Linked DNA regions of Homo sapiens: regions 1, 2, 3, 5, 6 and 7 are each linked to region 4. Evidence: promoter capture Hi-C in 16 types of primary human blood cells and fetal thymus (Javierre and others, 2016). All regions are on one chromosome and are shown on one strand. Each heading gives the region's core, a stretch centred on a gene start or on the middle of the fragment in contact. The rest is flanking DNA. Distances are from core to core; before and after follow the strand shown.

The links. The method cuts DNA at HindIII sites, captures the fragments that hold promoters and counts their contacts. A CHiCAGO score of 5 or more calls a contact.
Region 1: a contact is called between a fragment that was not itself captured here and the fragment with the promoter of NDUFS1 in region 4, in 1 of 17 cell types (total CD4 T cells). The highest score is 8.5, in total CD4 T cells.
Region 2: the fragment with the promoter of C2orf69 here is called in contact with the fragment with the promoter of NDUFS1 in region 4 in 1 of 17 cell types (total CD8 T cells); the score reaches 5.4 in total CD8 T cells.
Region 3: the fragment with the promoter of TYW5 here is called in contact with the fragment with the promoter of NDUFS1 in region 4 in 7 of 17 cell types (naive CD4 T cells, total CD4 T cells, total B cells and 4 more); the score reaches 12.1 in naive CD4 T cells.
Region 5: the fragment with the promoter of BARD1 here is called in contact with the fragment with the promoter of NDUFS1 in region 4 in 3 of 17 cell types (total B cells, monocytes and neutrophils); the score reaches 7.4 in total B cells.
Region 6: a fragment that was not itself captured here is called in contact with the fragment with the promoter of NDUFS1 in region 4 in 1 of 17 cell types (neutrophils); the score reaches 6.9 in neutrophils.
Region 7: a fragment that was not itself captured here is called in contact with the fragment with the promoter of NDUFS1 in region 4 in 1 of 17 cell types (total CD4 T cells); the score reaches 5.4 in total CD4 T cells.

The regions. Positions count from the first base shown.
Region 1 is chr2:197,504,518-197,507,217 of GRCh38, reverse strand. All of the region lies in intron 2 of HSPE1-MOB4 (HSPE1-MOB4 readthrough), which reads right to left. Among named protein-coding and RNA genes, the nearest start is that of HSPE1-MOB4, 5.5 kb to the right of the region's middle. The HindIII fragment of the contact is 1,868 bases long and covers 485-2,352 here.
Region 2 is chr2:199,909,880-199,912,579 of GRCh38, reverse strand. C2orf69 (chromosome 2 open reading frame 69) reads right to left here and starts at 1,287. Exons shown (of 2, transcript NM_153689.6): 1 at 809-1,287. The coding sequence starts at 1,141. LOC101927687 (a long non-coding RNA gene) reads left to right here and starts at 1,434. Exons shown (of 4, transcript XR_923766.4): 1 at 1,434-1,555. RefSeq lists an enhancer at 966-1,155. The HindIII fragment of the contact is 7,031 bases long and covers 1-2,700 here.
Region 3 is chr2:199,954,207-199,956,906 of GRCh38, reverse strand. It overlaps TYW5 (tRNA-yW synthesizing protein 5), which reads left to right and starts at 1,416. Exons shown (of 8, transcript NM_001039693.3): 1 at 1,416-1,514. The coding sequence starts at 1,437. It overlaps MAIP1 (matrix AAA peptidase interacting protein 1), which reads right to left and starts at 1,325. Exons shown (of 5, transcript NM_001394955.1): 1 at 659-1,325. The coding sequence starts at 1,108. RefSeq lists enhancers at 893-992, 1,013-1,172, 1,343-1,462, 573-1,772. The HindIII fragment of the contact is 7,808 bases long and covers 501-2,700 here.
Region 4 is chr2:206,157,936-206,160,695 of GRCh38, reverse strand. It overlaps NDUFS1 (NADH:ubiquinone oxidoreductase core subunit S1), which reads left to right and starts at 1,252. Exons shown (of 19, transcript NM_005006.7): 1 at 1,252-1,355. EEF1B2 (eukaryotic translation elongation factor 1 beta 2) reads right to left here and starts at 801. Exons shown (of 6, transcript NM_001959.4): 1 at 637-801; 2 at 1-108. The coding sequence starts at 716. RefSeq lists a silencer at 465-534 and enhancers at 795-1,054, 1,165-1,574. The HindIII fragment of the contact is 3,079 bases long and covers 1-2,411 here.
Region 5 is chr2:214,808,273-214,810,972 of GRCh38, reverse strand. BARD1 (BRCA1 associated RING domain 1) reads left to right here and starts at 1,290. Exons shown (of 11, transcript NM_000465.4): 1 at 1,290-1,561. The coding sequence starts at 1,404. SNHG31 (small nucleolar RNA host gene 31) reads right to left here and starts at 744. Exons shown (of 4, transcript NR_110292.1): 1 at 541-744. RefSeq lists a silencer at 812-1,381 and enhancers at 1,932-2,011, 2,302-2,351. The HindIII fragment of the contact is 4,673 bases long and covers 563-2,700 here.
Region 6 is chr2:197,426,357-197,429,063 of GRCh38, reverse strand. The region is part of intron 1 of SF3B1 (splicing factor 3b subunit 1); the gene reads left to right. Among named protein-coding and RNA genes, the nearest start is that of SF3B1, 7.3 kb to the left of the region's middle. The HindIII fragment of the contact is 5,523 bases long and covers 1-2,707 here.
Region 7 is chr2:199,933,926-199,936,625 of GRCh38, reverse strand. TYW5 (tRNA-yW synthesizing protein 5) reads left to right here. Exons shown (of 8, transcript NM_001039693.3): 6 at 134-221; 7 at 579-695. Among named protein-coding and RNA genes, the nearest start is that of TYW5, 20 kb to the left of the region's middle. The HindIII fragment of the contact is 2,345 bases long and covers 119-2,463 here.

The sequences.
Region 1 (2,700 bases), core at 169-2,668, 8.7 Mb after region 4:
AAAAAGAAAAAAAATTATTTCTTTAGCAATTCTGCTAGGCAGGCATCACAATAGGACTGCTTCTGTGGTTCAAAAATTCTCTTATCCTTCTGATTTAGTAGGTTTGGATGAGGCCCTGAAATTTTAAGTTTACCAGGCAATTGCAAAGATGAACCAAGCTTTGTGAACTATTACCTTAGATATCAAAACTAATTTGCTGGGTCTTAGGAAAATAGCATTGGAGAATAATGGGAAAGCCATAGCCTTTGAACAGATTCCTTACTCTACAATATATTAGCCACATGTCCTTGGAACGATTTCTTATCTCTTAAGTCAAGGTTTCTCATTGGTAATACAGAAAAATCTGTGCTCCCAAGATTATGATGAGCAAAGCATATTATCTAGCTGTGCGTGAGTAGAGTATGAAATTGATAATCCACTTAGACAATATAAGAAATAACTTTTAGGCATAATTCCAGTATCGAAGTTTGACAAAAAGTAAGCTTTAGTACACCAAAGGCAGTAACACGTGCATAAACGTAAATATACATATAGTGGAAGTACCTACTACTTTACAGATGGGAAGATGATCAAAAGTTGAGATCATTATTCCATGCCATTTAAAACTTTAAATTTTAATTCCTCTCAAAATAAATACGGGACACAACCTTTAAAAGACATTATCAGACTAGTTTATGGATAATTAAACCTAGAAAATAAGTTTGACTACTAAGACAGCTGGTAGCTGATAGTTGAGTTTAAGGGTTGGTAATCAATTCTAGCGTAGGATTCTTTTTTTTAAAGACAGGGTCTCATTCTGTCACCCAGATTGCAGTGTGGTGGCACAATCTCGGCTCACCAGAGCCTTAACCTCCCCACCTCAGCCCCTTGAGTAGCTTTTTGTATTTTTTGTAAAGACAGGGTTTCACCATATTGCCCAGGCTGTCTCGATCTCAAGAGATCTGCCCACCTCGGCCTCCCAAAGTGCTGGGATTACGAGCACAAGCCACCGCACCCAACCAAATTCTAGTGTAGTATTATTGGGTTTGAATCTTAAGTCTTCTCCCTAGCTGCTACAGCTATATCAAGCTATTTATCCTCTGCTTTGACTCAGTTTTGTTAAATTCAACACATGGTGTACTAGGAACTTAAGTGACATACATCATTTGGTACTACCCATTCCCCATACCACAGTGGGTATCACCAGGATTAATTGAAATAATGTGTATTAAGTGCTTAGAATTAACAAAGTAGCAAAGGCTATAAAGGATCAAGTTTTAAACAGTAACATCTGGAGATGGACTGTGTCTGAATCCTGGCTTTGCCACTTACCACTGAGCAACCTTGGTTATTACTTAACCCCTTCTATGCCTTAGCTTTCTCATCTGCAGGTTGAGAACAGTACCTATCTCATAGGGTTGTTGAAAGATTAAACCAATTAATACATGAAAAGCACCTTCAACAGTAACCAGCACCTAGAAAATGCTCCGGTTAGCTATCCTATCACACAGTGCTCACCCCAGAGAGAAGGCACTCAGCCAATGTTAGCTATCATATATATATATATATATATATATATATATATATACACACACACACACACACACACACACACACACACACACGTATATACATGTGTGTATATATCACATATATCATATATGTATATGTATCATATATATACTTTTTTTTTTTCAAAACAGTCTATGTCACCCAGGTTGGAGTGCAGTGGTGCAATCTTAGCTCACTACAACCTCCGCCTCCCAGGTTCAAGCCATTCTCCTGCCTCAGCCTTCCAAGTAGCTGCAATTACTTGCCTTAGATTTTTTTTTTAACCAAATTATGTAGCAGTGTTAAGTTTTTAAAAATGAAATGAGCCGGGCGCGGTGGCTCACGCCTGTAATCCCAGCACTTTGGAAGGCCAAGGCAGGTGGATCATGAGGTCAGAAGATCGAGACCATCCTAACATGGCGAAACCCCGTCTCTACTAAAAATACAAAAAATTAGCAGGGCATGGTGGCAGGCGCCTGTAGCCCAGCTACTTGGGAGGCTGAGGCACGAGAATTGCTTGAACCCGGGAAGCGGAGATTGCAGTGAGCCAAGATCATGCCACTGCACTCCAGCCTGGGCAACAGAGAAACTGTCTCAAAAAAAAAAAAAATGTTCACTCCAGAATTAAATTTTCCTAAAATAAAACAAGACATAAAAAAACACTTGGAGGATACCAGAGCAACTCCAGTATTGCTAAGTGGCCTTAGATACTTGGTCACTGGATGCTGGGCAGCTTCAGGTGAAGATGGTGGTCACTGAGGCTCAGGTAACCATGGAGAGCTTCTCAGCACTGTTCTTTCCAATGCAATACAAAACAAAGCTTAAAAGACGCAATGTATCTGGGAAGTTAATTGGGGTGAAACTATGGATTACAGCTGAGCCAAGGGAAAAATGTACCACAGCTGAGCGGGGTGACCCTGGTGCGCTCACTGCTTTGTCATTGCTGCTGGCCGCCAAGGACGATCACCCCTCAAGGACTATGTGATGCCTTTTTCACGTTGTCTTTCAGAAACTTGATAGGACATCATATGCCTGATATTAAATGCCAGTATCAGGTTAGAAACTACACTGAAGTCTTCCTGTTTCTCATCTCAACTACATTGAGGTCACACTGACTAGGTGAGCATGTGGCTGTTTTCCAACTCTGACAAACTAGTGTCAAATAGAAAA
Region 2 (2,700 bases), core at 38-2,537, 6.2 Mb after region 4:
TCTATGATAATGCTATATATCTGTGCTGTCCAATACAGCACACGCAAGCCATCTGTAGCTACTGAGCACTTGAAATGCAGCTAATATGAATAACTGGATTTTTAGTTTTATTTAATTTTAATTAATTCAGATAGCCATATATGGCTAATGGCTACCATATTAGATAATGCAACGTTAGATTAAGACCCAGTTTTCAGGGCAACATAACCACGGATATTTACCTGCAGCTATAAAATAATAAACATAACATGCAAAAGCAAAAGTACAAAAGAGGTGAGCATCAAAACATTGACATGCTTAATAATTATTGTCCCTTTTCTTCCACCCATCCCCACTCTTTTTTAGGGTTACTGGATGTCATACCTTTGTAATGTTTGTTTGGTTTTTAATTACTGCCACCGTTTTCTAAACACTACGTGCTAACTTAATTTGAAAGCCATCGCTCTGTCCCCTGCCCAACACACACACACGGTCCTCTGAGAAACCAAATTATAGAATAAATATACAAGATGCGTGTCACTCCCTGTCTCAAATTCCGCCTCTTGGAAACCTGGACCGACAGCTGGCTCTTTCGAGATCGTAGCCCTCGTCGGACACCTTCCCCATGGGGTTCTATGGACAAAGGGCGCCAAGGGCGTGGAAGGCACGGTTTTGGATTTCGTGGAGTAGAGGAAGAGCCACCCTCAGTGAATGTGTGGGTGTGTTCAGGCAAGGAAAGGAACCAGGCAGCAGCCACGAGGGAAGAATCAGTGACCGCGTACGTATACACGAGAGGAAGGAACAGATACCCAGGCAGGCCCCGAGTTACCTGCACATCCCCAGGGAAATAGAGGACGTGATGCTGGGGCGGCGGCTGCGGCTCCTCCTTCGCTGGGTCCCCGGGGAGGTCCTGCCGCTCCAGTCCCTCCCCGGCCGCCGCCAACAGGAGCAATTCGTTGCTGCGCTGCGGATCGGCTCCAGGCACGGTGGAAAGCTGCAGGCACTGACGGCGGCGCACCTCGGCCGAGAGGGAGCATCGCGCGCCGCCGCTGCCGCCCGGGTTCATGGTTCTGGCCTGAGAGCAGGACGAGGCGTTTCCGATTCCGAGCTGCGGCAGCAGGAGCAGCAACGGCGGCGACCGCAGGAGCCTGAACCCCCACATGGGTCGCCGCCGCGAGAGCGGTTCGGAGGTGGAGGGTGGCGGAGGGGTTCCTGAGGGAGGGACTTCAGCAGGCGGCTCAGCCGGCGGCTCAACGGTCGGCGGCCGCGGCCCGGCCGGGAGCCGGCGCTGAGGCGACGACGTCAGAGGCCGACGTCCGCGCGCAGCGTGCGTAAGGAAAGGAAGGGAGGGGTGTGGGCGAAATCGGTCTTGGGATCCCGGAGAAGACGGTGGGCGTGGCTTGAGGAAGGGCGTTTGTGATTGGTGGGTTCTGCCGCGGCCGGGAAGTTCGAACAGAAGTCTGGGGAAGAGCCGGCGAAGAGCAAAGAGATAATACAGTACTCCCAGCTATAGCAAGCGGCAGTTATGGAGCATGCGCAGCAGCAGGGGCGGCCGCAGGTCGCCGTTCAATAATACGTAATGTATAGACTTTTGAGTATACGAAGCTCCCTGTTTCTCTAGGTTCACCTGAGATTTATCTGGTCTTTCAGGGCTTAAAAGGGAGACATTCCCAAAGAAGATTCCGTGGGAAGTCTCCTACAAGCCCCGAAGGAAGGGAATCTCTCTCCTCATACCTTGAGTTTCCTGAGTACAATTATTATAGATATACGAAGATCTCTGTGCTCATGGAGAATTTGTGGTTAGATATGAAGCTAATTCATCTCTGTTTGGGAACAGGGTACATGATCTAGGACAGGAAAAAAACGGGGCGAGGCAGTACGCTTTACTTGGTGTTTTGCTATTTGGAGGTTTTCAAAAACTAAACAGTGTAGGAAAGTCATGTGTGTCCAGCAACTATCTGTGGCCAGTTGAGTAGGAATAAGATTTGGCGAAATGTATGCTCAGGCCTGTACTCCCAGCACTGTGGGAGGCCGAGGCGGAGGATCACTTGAGTCCAGCAGTTTGAAACCAGCCTGGGCAACATAGGGAGGCCTTGTCTCTACTAAATTTTTTTTTTTAATTAGCCGGGCGTGGTGGTGCATGCCTATAGTCCAAGCTACTGGGAGGGCTGAGATGGGAGATTGGATCGCTTGAGCCCAGGAGTTGTATGCTGCAATGAGTTGTGATCCCACCACTGCACTCCAGCCTGGGCAACAGAAGCAGACCCTGTCTCAAAAAATAAACCAAAAACAAACAAAACAGGGAAATGTGTGCGAGCGAGGATGAGATCCAAGTACTTGTGAGACAAAGCACTGTAAAGAGAATAATTAATGAAAATTACAAAAAACTACAGCCAACATTTGTTGAGGGTTTACTATAGGCCAGAAATCTAAGCACTTTATATATAATTGTTCGGAGTTTATATATGTGTATTTAAGCACACATACTGTTTTCTTTGGTCTACATATGCAAATAATAACAAATGGCTTGGAGTAGGAACATAAATGAGCAAATGATAAAATATGATTTATATATATGTATAGACTTGGTGACTTAGTATGCTAACCTACTCTGGTCTAAATTGTTGCATTCCATCTGACATCAAAATATTGTTATCAATCAAAAATTATTCAATTAATTACTAAGGAAATCTGCCGCTTTCTAAAATAACTGGTTAAAAA
Region 3 (2,700 bases), core at 167-2,666, 6.2 Mb after region 4:
CTAAATATTTTCTGTGTGCAGGGTGCTGTGCACTTAGCCACCAGGCAGTCTCAGCAAATCCTTTGAAAGGGTAAAATTGCTCATCTCCAGTTTAATCTTTACGGAGTATGGGGTGGTGTATTGGTCGGCTCTGTCTAATAGCTGGCAGGAAGTTCTGCTCTTCTACCCAAGGTGACATTACAGCACTTTGGAAATGTTATCTCAATTATTCTTCAATCTTACCCATTTATTAATGTATTCAGCAAACATTCATGGAGTGCCTACTATGTGCCAGGCATTGTCTTGCCCACTTTGTAAATTTGAAAATTATGTTCAGACAAGATGAGCCATATAGCTTTTTCTTTCTGAGACAGGGCCTGGCTCTGTATCCCAGGCTGGAGTGCAATGGCACGATCACAGCTCACTACAACGTCCAACTCCTGGGTTCAAGCGATCCTCCCCTTCAGCCTCCCAAGTAGCTGAGACTACAGGCGTGTACCACCATTCCCGGCCCAGAAGCTTACTTTAAGTCAAGCAATGGCTGGAAGGCTCTATGTCTGGGCCACTAATCACGTTTGATCACTTGTATCCCAGTGAAGAAAACTCACTGCTAAGCACTTCTGCGAGCAATAGTTGAACTCATTAGAGACGGATAGGTCAATCAGGGAAATAAACAAACCTGCTTCGCTCCCTCGGAGAACTCTGTGATGCTGAACTCTTTGTCGAAATAGGCCCAGATAAGGAAGGCCTTAATTCGAGTCCTAACCCAGTTGATGGGGTTGGAGAATCCCAGGACGATCATCTTGGTTTTCTGGTGCTGCTGGGGCTTCTCCTCCGTGCTGTAGCTGCGCTGAGGGCAGGCAGGGAAAGAAGCGAAGGCTGCGGGGAGTCCCGGGCTGCTGAGCACTGGCCACCGGGAGCCCTGGGCAGGTAGCGCCGAGGCTGCCAAGGCCCTAGCGCTTCGTGGAAATAACGCCGCTCCCAAGCCGAGGCGACAGCGGCAGAAGTAGCAAAGTGTGGCCGACGGCAGCCTCACCTCGGCCACAGCAGGAGTCCGGAGTCGGACGGCCCCGCAGGGCAGCGACCGAGAGTGCAGGAACTGGGGTAGCAAACGAGCGGCCAGCGCCATTTTTATGACCCTTCACACCGGTGCCTGCCGGTGCTGTATGGAAAGGAAGTCGGTGGGAAACCGCCTCAGCGGTGTCGGAGAAAGAGACTGGAGAGCAAAGTGGACCTGTTGCTGCAGCCTCTGGTGAGTCGGCCCCGTCCCCGCTCTCCAGCACGCAGCCCAGGCCGAGGCCCTTCGGCAACCCGCCCCGCGCTCGGACCCAGCCACTCTGGAGTCTGCCGGCCTCGCGGACCTTTTCTCTGTCGCTCGTGTTTCCGGGCGGATGGCGCTGAGGAACGCTTTAGAGCCGAAGTTCCGAAGACCTGGAAGAGGGCAGGCGTGAGCAACCATGGCCGGGCAGCACCTCCCGGTACCCCGGCTGGAGGGCGTTTCTCGGGAGCAGTTCATGCAGCACCTCTACCCACAGGTGAGGCCCTCGCGCGGGGCAGAACCTCGAGAAACCAGCGAGAGACACGTCTTTACCTTTCGGACAGCTGGGAACTGGTTTTTAGAGACCCAGGGTGTGGGAAAGAGGCGCAGGACGGCAGCAGATCACTGGTTGGCCCTTAGACCAAGGGAAAGGTGCACGGGGGACGCCGACTGGCTCCTCTATTGAAATTTCCGGAGAAAGTCCCATGTTTCTGGGGAGCAAGATGATGGCGGAGAGCTGAGTGCGAGAGGTATTTTGCCTAAACTCTTTACTCCGCATCTGTCAGTCTGCTCCGAATTAATGGATTTGAAGGCACAACTTTTCACTCCACTGAGCCAAAAAGGAAAGCAATGGGATTCCCCCGGAAAACTCCTACTCGTCTTGAATTCTAACTTACTTAGGTTCTAGTTCCGACATTGGAGTCTTTTATACCTGTAGTTAGAACCTTAGGTCTTTAAAAGAAAACTCATAGAGAAATATTAGGGAAACAAAAAGTGCTTTTACTTGCAGTGCTTTTCAAGGGAGTCCAGACCTAAGAAAAACAAGGTATTAAAAGGAAAAATCCACAGGATTACAGTAAGTCAGTTTATGGTAGGAAAAATACCCAGCAATTTTCTTACCTGATATTTACATTTATAAGGGTGGTCATAGAATTACAGTTCTGGGGCCGGGCGCGGTGGCTCACGCCTGTAATCCCAGCACTTTGCGAGGCCGAGGCGGACGGATCACCGGAGGTCAGGAGTTCAAGACCAGCCAGTAGAAATCCCATCTCTACTAAAAATACAAAATTAGCCGGGCATGGTGGTGGCCCATACCTGTAATCCCAGCTACTCGGGAGGCTGAGGCAGGAGAATCGCTTGAACCCGGGAGGCGGAGGTTGCAGTGAGCCGAGATCGCGCCACTGCACTCCAGCCTGGGCAACAAGAGCTAAACTCGGTCTCAAACAAACAAACAAAACTACAATTCTGAGTGTTACAAAAGTCGGATGGGCTGGGCGCCGTGGTTCATGCCAGTAATCCTAACATTTTGGGAGGCCCAGGTCGGTGGATCACTTGAGGTCAGGAGTTCAAGACCAGCCTGGCCAATATGGTGAATCCCCGTCTGTACAAAAAATACAAAAATTAGCCGGGCGTGGTGGCGCACGCCTGTATTCCCAGCTACTCTGGAGGCTGAGGTCGGAGGA
Region 4 (2,760 bases), core at 3-2,502:
TCGTAAGACTTGATGTGATTATACCAACGTAGGGCATGACACAAGTCGGCAGGCGGTGGGCTGGACACGGCTTCAAATACTGCCACATCTGCTTGTGATGGCACATACCTGCCAAGGACACAGAAACATTCACACACACCTTTGAAAAACAAACGCCAGCGAATAAATAATAAATACCGTATGCATCACATTAATTAGTGGGCACTAACCCCAGCAGGGTTGCTTTAATGCTTTTCTTTTCTTATTAGCTCCTTCAAATCAAACCATATGTTTGGGTCACCGCGCTATCCTGAGAAATGTCTGCCACTAAGTAGACCTCAAATACTGCAATGTCTGGCGTTGCTCTATCTACAGCTTAACATGTATTAACTGGGCAGCGATGCGGAAACACCTGGCTGAATTAAGTGTAAATAAAGCACATTTTAACCTTTCCTTGCTCGTGAACCGCTCCCCGGAGGCCGGGCTCGCCCCACACGAGGGCCTTGGGAGACGGCAACGGGGCGCTTTCCCCTCCCTCTCGAAAGGGCCCCGGGCCCGGCCTCCCTCCCTCCCGCGGCAGCCGACACGCTGCGCCACGTGGCCCCGGCCCCGGGCGGAGAAACCTCCCCGCCACCCCGACTCAGCCCGTCCGCTCACCCCTCGATGTAGCTCTTGTCCGCCAGGTAATCGTTGAGCACCTGGAGGCCGGCAGGGCTTTTCAGGTCTCCGAAACCCATGGTGTCGGCTGTATCCGAGAGCTGGGGAGCAGCAGAAAGAGAGCGCGCAAATTGTGGGCGCCCCACGCTGAAGAGAGGAAAAAGGACCCGAAGAGACCGGAAAATTCCTTATATAGAGACGGAGGCGTTTCCCTCCACCGCGCCGGACCGAAGGTTAAAGGTCAAAGTACTTTTGCATTCCCACTTCTCCACGTACGAATTGGGGGCCCTGAATTAAATGGCCCACAAATTGTCCATGGACCTTTCGTTGCGTTTGGAAGTAAATTAATAAAATAGGCATGTCTTAAGTTCGTACCTCCACGGCTCCCGAAGATGACGGGAACCAGCCCTAGAAGCGCCGGAGATGACCGAAGACGCCCGGCCTCGAGGCTGGGGCCACTTCCGGCGGAACTGCGGGTCCAAGTTGTCCTTCCCGCCTCCGGGCTGGGCCGACCTCAGCTCCGCCCTCTGGTCGGCTGACGGAAATTGCCGACAAACTTGTCGAATGCAAGGATTCTAGTCCCTCCGGGCTTTCCGTTCTCCAGGCCCGGCTGACAGAGTTAGCCGAGGCCGCCATATTGAATAAGCGACCCGGCCTCCTAGGGGGTCGTCGTGGTCCAGACAGTTTAGCAGAACAGCCTCCGCGGCTCCGGGGAGAAGGTGAGGTCTTGTATGGATGGGAAGGGTGAGGTGCGTCGGCCAGAGGCTTATTTATTGACGGGACTGTTTCCTTTGGCCCACGCGACGTAGTCTTCTGTTGTCCTTGACTGGGCGCCGCCTCCCGCCCCGCCGCCTCGGAAGCCCCTGAGAGCCGGCAGATGGGGGGCTTTTAGCCACGGTCTCTGGTCTGATGAAGCAGAAAAGAAGATGAGGATCAGGGGGTCCTCGGGAACGCTGTCACGAATGTAGGCTTGCAGGTGACCTTCCCTCTGCAGGGAAAATTCAGGACATTTCCCTCTCAGAGGAGGAGGCCGTTTTATTCCCCGGGAGAGGACCAGTGTCCGATGACTTAGGCCTTAAGACTAAGCCTTTCCCCCCAGATTTTTACACGCCTGATACAGTGCATGATTGTTTGGTCGCTGTTGTGTTAGCAATGGCTCACGCTTCTGTTTGTTGTCCTTGTTTGTTTGGTCCATTGACCACGTTGGACAGCATTTTTTTATTCCTTTAACTAACGGGAAATTGAGAAAAACGACTTTTGAAAAGTTAGCCCAGGATTGCATTGCAAATAACAAAACGTTGTTTACAGGTTATTGGGATCCAGTGCTTGAACTGTAAGGTCTTGGATCAGACACAACTCTGTTCACACACGAATTGACGGTATAGAAGTGTAACGTTAACTGTTTTTGATGAATAAACAAGTTATTTTTGTTTTGCGGAATATTCTTGTTTTCACCGACTTAAGGCTGCCAGAGCACCTGCACTTTTTAAATCCGGGAAAGTGGTCTCTACAAATTAACGACCAGAAATTAGAGATTCAGTTCACTTAACCGTTATTGAACATTTACTACGAGCCAGAAATGAGTCCGTAAAGAAGAATAAAATGGATGATATGCTGGGGGAATCGTAAATGTTAGATAGCCTGGTCAATGAAACTGAGAAAAGGCTTTTAAGCCAAGATTTGAAGGATAAGGAGGGGCCAGGGAAGAGCATTTCAGTCTGAGGTCACAGCCGGTGGCAAGAGGGGAGAGGCTGTGTGGGAATAGTGTGGAAGCTTGGTGACCTGTTAAGCTATTGAAGGCCGGAGGCGGTGGCTCACTCCTGTAATCCCACCACTTTGGGAGGCCGAGGCGGGCGGATCACGAGGCCAGGAGATCGAGACCATCCTGGCTAACACGGTGAAACCCTGTCTCTACTAAAAATACAAAAAATTAGCTGGGCGTGGTGGCGGGCGCCTGTAGTCCAGCTACTTGGGAGGCTGAGGCAGGAGGCTGGCGTGAACCCGGGTGGCGGGGCTTGCAGTGAGCCGAGATCGCTCCGCTGCACTCCAGCCTGGGCGACAGAGCGAGACTCTGTCTCAAAAAAAAAAAAAAAAAAGCTATTGAAATACTCCAGGCAAGGAGTG
Region 5 (2,700 bases), core at 41-2,540, 8.7 Mb before region 4:
AAGGAGTTTTAAGAAAGGGAAGTGCCACGATGAGTTTTGTGTTTGGAAATGTTTTAGGCGGCCACACCGCAGTCTCGGGACTGGCTGGGACCTGGATAGACACTTGGATATCAGCTAGAAAGCTACGACAGGAAACCAGGCGAGGACGAGGCAACTGGGGATGTTGTGGAGCAGAGACGGAGAGAAAATGGGTGCATTCGAGACAAGTTAGGGGGAAAAAATGCAAGGACTTGGAAATGAACTTGGGGCGCGGCAGGAAGGCATGACGGGTTGCTCTGTAGGTCTTATCTGTAAATTACGGCGATCAGTGAAAGATCTGGAGGAGGAAGGTGGACACACTCTCTAACAAAAAAAACCCTTTTTGAAATTTTATACCAATATTTTAAAAGTAAACCAGATCTTTTCAGACATGCCTTTGAGCTGATATTTGTTAACTAGTTAGAATTAGAAACTTTCCTTATTTTTACTCAGTTACAATATACGCCACAGCTGAGGTGAGAGGAAAGAAAAGGTTGCTTTCTTAGGAACAAAGAGTGGTACCTTCAGTATCGTGGGCAAAGCTTTTCCAAGTCCAACAGCAGTCAAAACAGCGCTTTTTATAAATAACACTCAGCTAAAAGTTTCTGGGTTTGTGATTGTTCCAACGGTTAAGCTCGGATGAGGGTCCCTGGAGTCGTAGCTCCCGGGAAACGTCGACTGGCTTTCCACCTGGACTTCATCCGTCCAGGCAGCCCAGAGGGGCTTCAGGCCCCGCCCGCTCTCCTGCCAACTACAGCCTCGCGACTGCGCTCAGCCTTCAGGCCCCGCCCCTTCGGTCAAGCGGCGTGCTCTCACTGCACGGCGCCTGGGCCCCGCGCGCCGGGACCTCGGTTTCAGCCGTCCTGTCCTGCCCCGAGGCCCCTAGGCCCCGCCCCTGGGCCCCGCGCGCCAGGACTTCGGTTTCGACCGTCCTGTCCCGCCCCGAGGCTCCTAGGCCCCGCCCCCTCTGTCCCCGGCGTGTTCTCGCGGCTCCGCCCCTAGGACCCGCGCGCCGGGACTTTGGCAAGTTTCAGCCGTCCGGCCCCGCCCCCTCGGTCCCACGGCTCTCGCGGCCCCTCCCCTAAGTCCCACACGCCGGGACTTTGGCAAGTTTCAGCCTCCAGCCCCACCCCTAGGTCCCGCCCACTCGGCCAGCGGCTGGCTCTCGCGGCCCCGCCCCTGTGCCCTGCGAGTCCCTATTTTGGGAGCATTGCGGCCGCCGTGCCCCGCCCCTCCCCGCGCGCCCCGCCCCTCTGGCGGCCCGCCGTCCCAGACGCGGGAAGAGCTTGGCCGGTTTCGAGTCGCTGGCCTGCAGCTTCCCTGTGGTTTCCCGAGGCTTCCTTGCTTCCCGCTCTGCGAGGAGCCTTTCATCCGAAGGCGGGACGATGCCGGATAATCGGCAGCCGAGGAACCGGCAGCCGAGGATCCGCTCCGGGAACGAGCCTCGTTCCGCGCCCGCCATGGAACCGGATGGTCGCGGTGCCTGGGCCCACAGTCGCGCCGCGCTCGACCGCCTGGAGAAGCTGCTGCGCTGCTCGCGTTGGTAAAGACGGAGCTTCTTGGGGGTGGCTGCGAGGGCACGGGTCGCACAGTTTCTGGGGGCGGCAGAATCTTTTCAAATCTTCCGTTTCCTCCTTCCGTTCCCGCGCTGCAGTCGGGTCGGCGTGCGGTTAGCACCTGCCGGGGGATATAGTATTAACAACTTCTGCTTCTCATTCACTTTATTTTTGGGCGACTTACCGGCCTCCCCTTGCCCTGAATCCAACTGAAACGGTAGTTTTTGAACTTCAGCGGGCTGAAGAACCGTCTGGAGGTGTGGCTAAAAAAATGTTCATCCCGGTCGCGCCTCCAGAGTTTGAATCGGGCTGGGGTGGGGCTGAGGCTTCTGCATTTTTTACCCGGCCCTGGATTACCCCGCTGCTTTCCGGGAGCTGTGGCGAATTGGGCTGGCGGGCCGCCCCGGAGACCCTCTAAATTAGAAGCAGCTGCCACTCTAAGTTAAACTGGCCTTTTTGACATTTTCTCCGTGCCAGCTTTTTCGAGTGAGATGGGATGGAGCATCGGATATCTACCATAGTTGTAGATTGAAGATGGCACGGAATTTCTCATTTTCTTAGTTTGCTCAAAAGACTGTATGTCTGGTGTCCCCGCTCTTAGTGATGCTGTTTATTGTTTTCCTTCATGCTGTCACATTATGGGAGTCCTCTCAGGGTTTTCATTCCGTCCAAAGACATTTTCATGAGTGTTACTTCTTGCTTTTTTTCGTGTAGCTCTTTCTAGTATACAAACCAAGAAGGTTTGTAAAACCCAAGAAAGGTTTGTCTCATTTTCATTTCTTCTGAAAAGCATTTTTATTGAGCACTTGCTGTGTGTACAGCTAAGTATTTCTGTATGAAGATCACTGGCAGTTTTTTTGTTATTTGTAGCTGTCAAAAGTTTATATCCTTTTTGGACTTTTTTCCCCTTTGATTTCTAACTTGCAGAACTTAAGTTACCTAGTTGCATAAAGTATAAGTAACACAACTTTTTCTTTTCTTTCCTTTTTTGAGACGGAGTCTCGCTCTGTCGCCCAGGCTGGAGTGCAGTGGCACGATCTTGTCTCACTGCAAGCTCCGCCTCCCGGGTTCACGCCATTCTCCTGCTTCAGCCTCCCAAGTAGCTGGGACTGCAGGCGCCCGCCAT
Region 6 (2,707 bases), core at 188-2,687, 8.7 Mb after region 4:
CAAGTCTTCATTGTTTTTGACCTCTGGTTACTCATTTTGGTATGTTCTCTCATTTTTTATTTTCATAGTTGCCAACCCCCGCCTTTTTTTTTTGAGATGGAGTTTCACTGTGTCGTCCGGGCTGGAGTGCAGTGGCGTGATCTTGGCTCACTGCAACCTCTGCCTCCCAGACTCAAGCGATTCTCTTGTTGCCCAGGCCAGAGTGCAGTGCTGTGATCTCGGCTCACTGCAACCTCCACCTCCCAGGTTCAAGCGATTCTCATGCCTCAGCCTTCCAAGTAGCTGGGATTACAGGCGTGCCACCACCATGTCTGGCTAATTTTTGTATTTTTAGTGAAGACAGGGTTTCACCATGTTGGCCAGGCCGGCTTTGAACTCCTGATCTCAAGTGATTCAACTGTCTTGACTTCCCAAAGTGCTGGGATTACAGGCGTGAGCCACCGCGCTCAGCCAGTTGCCAAGCAGTTTTATGCATTGATCATTTGTTGTCAGAAATGATCTATTTGCATATTTTTAGTCAGTTTATATTTAAGAAATTATAGGAATACTTACACACCAGGCTGTAACTTAGTGTTGGTTTTGAAAATACGGAGTTAGAGACAACATTGTTATTCCCAGAGATAAAAAATTTGAAGTGGAATTTTACAAACCTTGGCTGGCATGGATAGGGGAGAGAAAAATTTGGAAAATTACTTTTAATTACTTCTACAGATTACCTATTTATTTATTTACTTACTTATTTAGAGGCAAGGCCTGGCTCTAACACCCAGGCTAGAGTGCAGTGGTGTGATCTCAGCTCACTGCAACCTCCGCCTCCTGGGCTCAAGCCATCCTCTGACCTCAGCCTCCTGAGTATCTGGGACTACAGGTGTGCACCTGTAGTGACTAATTTTTGTATTTTTGTCTAATTTTTGTAGAGACAGGGTTTCATCATGTTGCTTAGGCTGGCCTTGAACTTGTGAACTCAAGTGATCTGCCTGCCTGGGCATCCCAAAGTGCCCAGCCTCATTACCTTTTAATTAATTAATTAATTAATTAATTAATTTGAGACGGAGTCTTGCTCTGTCGCCTAGGTTGGAGTGCAGTGGTGCGATCTCGGCTCACTGCATCCTCTGCCTCTTGGGTTCAAGCAATTCTCTGACTCAGCCTCCTGAGTAGCTGGGATTCCAGGCACCCACCACCACACCTGGCTAATTTTTATATTTTTAGTAGAGATGGGGTTTCACCATCTTGGCCAGGCTGATCCTGAACTCCTGACCTCGTGATCCACCCGCCTCGGCCTCCCAAAGTGCTGGGATTACAGGCGTGAGCCACCATGCCCGGCCCAGATTACCTTTTATGAAATATTTTAACATGCAGAAGAGAATAGGACAAAATATAATGAACACTAACCCACTGCTCAGCTTTATCAGTTCTTCATTTTCTGCCGTATTTTTTCCCACCTTTTTATTTATTTTGAAAACGAAACCTCAGACACAAAGTTACCTTATTTATGAATGTCATGGTAATAATTTGTTTGCTCATAAATATTTGGGTATGTTATATTTGGTATTTTAGCACATAGTTTATTAAGAAATTTCTGAGTTTTTAGTTCTCTGAATTGCATAATAAGCTGCTGAGTTTTATGGAATCTGACGGCTTAATTTTATGGATCACATGGTGTATGTGTAAATGTGCTGCAGTTTGCAGTGTGTTAACAAAGCCCATTAAGCTGTTTGGACTTTATATCTATAGTTTCCAGCAGACAGAAAACAATGCCTGATTTGCATATAAACATTTAATTGTACTGCCTATAAGAAGTTCAGTAATATACTCACCTTAGGATTAATTAACTACAAACAGCTGCCTAGCCCCAGGAGATTTTGGGCTGGGTAATTTTGTTACTAAATTTTAATAAGAACCTAGTCATGATTTACATAGATTTCATACCAACACTATTTCAGTACTTTATGAACCTTTGTAATTGGAAAACTCTGATGCTAATCAGCAGGTACATAAAATCAATAGTTAAAATTCAGTAGCTGAAATTAGTTCCAGAATAAGTGTTATCCAAATGAGAAACTAGTTGCTGAAACTTCAGGATGGAAAAGTTGTTTAGATGGAAAATAAGAGAGATGCCTGATAAGGGGGAAAAAGCAAGTTGCACAATATGTGTAGTGTGCAGTTTTTATAAAACAGCACCCCTTTCCTGTTTTTTAGTTGTGTATGAGGTAGAGAAAAGTATAAAATGATGCTCTAAATTGGAAAATTTGGTAGGGGTGGGCTGGGGTTGGAAATGGGAGGGGTGAAGGGCCAGGTAAAATAGTTTCCTAGGGTGTTTGTTAATGATGCAGAATCCTGGGCTTCACAGCCTGAGTTGGAGTTTCAGAGTTAGTGTATCCAAGACCTAAGGTTCTACCTTTGTAACAGGTGCACCAGGTCATTTCTTTGTAGGTGGTCCTTATACTAGACTAATGCTGTAGAGGAGATTGCAGACTATTTCTCCTGATTCATCCATTTGTTTCTTACCTAAATCCTCATGGAAGTAGCATTTGTGGTCCTTTTACAAAAACCTATTTAGGTAAAAGTGATAAATGCACCTGTGGTTTAAAAAAAAAGCCTGAAGCTGGGCGTGGTGGTGGGCATCTATAATCCCAACTATTTGGGAGGCTGAGGCAGGAGAATGGCTTGAACCTGGGAGGCGGAGGTTGCAGTGAGCCGAGATCCA
Region 7 (2,700 bases), core at 42-2,541, 6.2 Mb after region 4:
GGTAACTGTAAGAGTCTTAAGTAAGTCAAGTCTCATTAAAGGATCGGGTTTGCAGTTAAAGTTTAGCATGCCATTGGTTCTATTTATTTGAATTTTAGATAATGATTACCCATAAGCTTTTATTGGTCTTCAGGTAATGGATAATTTGTTAATACAAGTGACAGGAAAAAAGCGTGTTGTACTCTTCAGTCCTCGAGATGCCCAGTATTTATATTTAAAAGGTATGGGATTTTTTTTAAGTTTATATTTCAAAAGTCTATTCAGTTACTCTTTTTGAGAAATCTCTTGATTCTTATAGGAAAAGAACACTTCAGTACTTAATCCTAATTGTATTTGTGTATATATGTAATAACAGGTTCAAATTTGAAATTATCTTATTACATGGGTATCAGTCATCAGAATTAAAGAGTGAGTCATTGAAAATTGTCTTAGGTGTCAGTAGCATAGTAATTCTCACAGTGTTGGTACAGTAAGTAACTGGATAGAAAAGAATAAATTTTCAAATTTATATTTGTGATTACTTTTTTTAAAATGCTAACTTTGCTGAATCTATATTATCCCTTTTTGGAACTTTTTAGGTACTAAATCAGAAGTACTGAATATAGATAACCCAGACTTGGCTAAATATCCACTTTTTTCCAAGGCTAGAAGATATGAATGTTCCCTTGAAGCTGGTGATGTATTATTCATTCCTGGTAAGATTTCTAGACCTCACTAATGTGCTATTTATAAAATGTGTACTCTGTCACTCATCCTTCATGTGATTTTTTTTTTTTAGTACAAATATATATTTGTTATATGTATCCGGTCCTATACAAGATGATTTTTAGACAAAACTCTGTGTGTGCGTGTGTGTGTATGTGTGTGTGTGTGTGTGTGTGTGTGTGTGTGTGTGTGTGTGTGTGTTTAAAGCAGGCCTAGGCAAACTTATTATAAGTTAACAGCCCTTGTAGTTTTGGCCTATAAGTTAACAGGTCTTGCACTTTTGGCCTCAAGCAATCCTCCCAACTTGAACTTTGGGAGGCCAAGGTGGGAGGATTGCTTGAGGCCAAAAGTGCAAGACCAGCATGGGCAACATAGCGAGACCCCGTCTCGACAAAAATAAATAAATAAATTTAGTCAGGCATGGTGGTGTGCATCTGTACGTCCCAGCTGCTCGGGAGGCTGAGGCAGAAGGATCTCTTGGGCCCACGAGGTTGAGGTTGAGGTTGAGGAGGTTGATGCCATGGCATCATGGAATCACTGTACTCCACTGTGAGCAACAGAGTAAGACCCTGTCTCTGAATAAACTAAATTAACAGTCTTGCTTTCAAGGGCAACCTATAAAAATAATATTATACTCTATTTTACTAAGTGACATCAAGTAAGACACATTTTTTATAGCTTTTATTTATTTATTTATTATTATTTTCAAAGTGGGACACTTTATATCTGGGAAAAGATTATACTTGTTCGTTTTCTAAATTATTTTTTAAAAATAATATACTCTATTAAATGACATCAAGTAAGACACTTTATATTTGGGAAAAGATTATACTGATTGGTTTTGTAAATTATTTTATTTTAAAAATATTTCTGTATTTTAGAACTGTGTCACTTAAATATTTACCAAAAAAAAATGATAAGTATCTTTCAAGGCCAAAACAGATGAAAGATTTCATATTAAAATGTTATAATCTCAACACCTGTAGTATCATTTGTGTACATTATTTTTCTATACAGTCTGGATTTGTGTCACTTAATTTCTTTGTTCAATTAATAGGCATTAGTTTGAAAGTCCATAAAGTTCAACACAGCAAGGTAATTAACATCTGTAATTAATACTTAAAAGTGAACTCTTGAAGATTATAAAAATCATAATTAAAATTAAAGGGATATATTAACAAATTCTATTTATAGTTGTAGTTCCATATTTAAATTAATCTATTAAGAATCATTAATACTTTTCACTGATAAAAATAAGTAAATATTAATAAAGATCCATATTTGATGACTTCTTTTGGGACTAGATTATAAATTCCTTGAAGACAACTATGTTTTGTTCATCTTTGTCTTCCCCAAAAGGGCCAGATATGATATAATGGCTTTCATATAATTGATAATTTATAAAAAGTTGACTTTTTATTCTTATTTTCATTGAAAGCAACGAACGTATTAGTCTTCAAATCTATTGCCATCTTTTAAATTTACACTTTTGGTTTTTGTATCTTGGGAGCATGATTAAGATCTATGTAGTTTTCCCTTATTCTTCATACAATTGTTTTAAGAAAAAAAAAAATACTGAACATTTGCATATATTTTTAAACAAAAGCAAAATTCCTGTCTTTGGGTTTAAATTCAGCTGAATGGTTAGCATTTTCTTCCTATTATATTGAATAAGGGAAAAAAAAGATTCTGAAAGAAAGTGTAGTTAAGATTAAAACCATGTTTGAAAATTAGTTTTCCAAATCAAAATGTTAAGCTTTTGTTTTTCCTTAAACACTCTTAGAATAAGTTTCTAAAATTTAAATCTCCCTTTCACAGGATTAAAAGGGTTTTTCCTGTGATTAGTGTTCCATCTTTGTTATATTGTGGTATTGCTTTAGTATTCCTCTAGCACCTATATTCTGAAAATGTTTAGATTCAATTGAAAATAAAGTAAATTTCCCAATAAAAGGAAAAAAATTAATTAGGTATATAATAAAGTTTACTCATCATTTC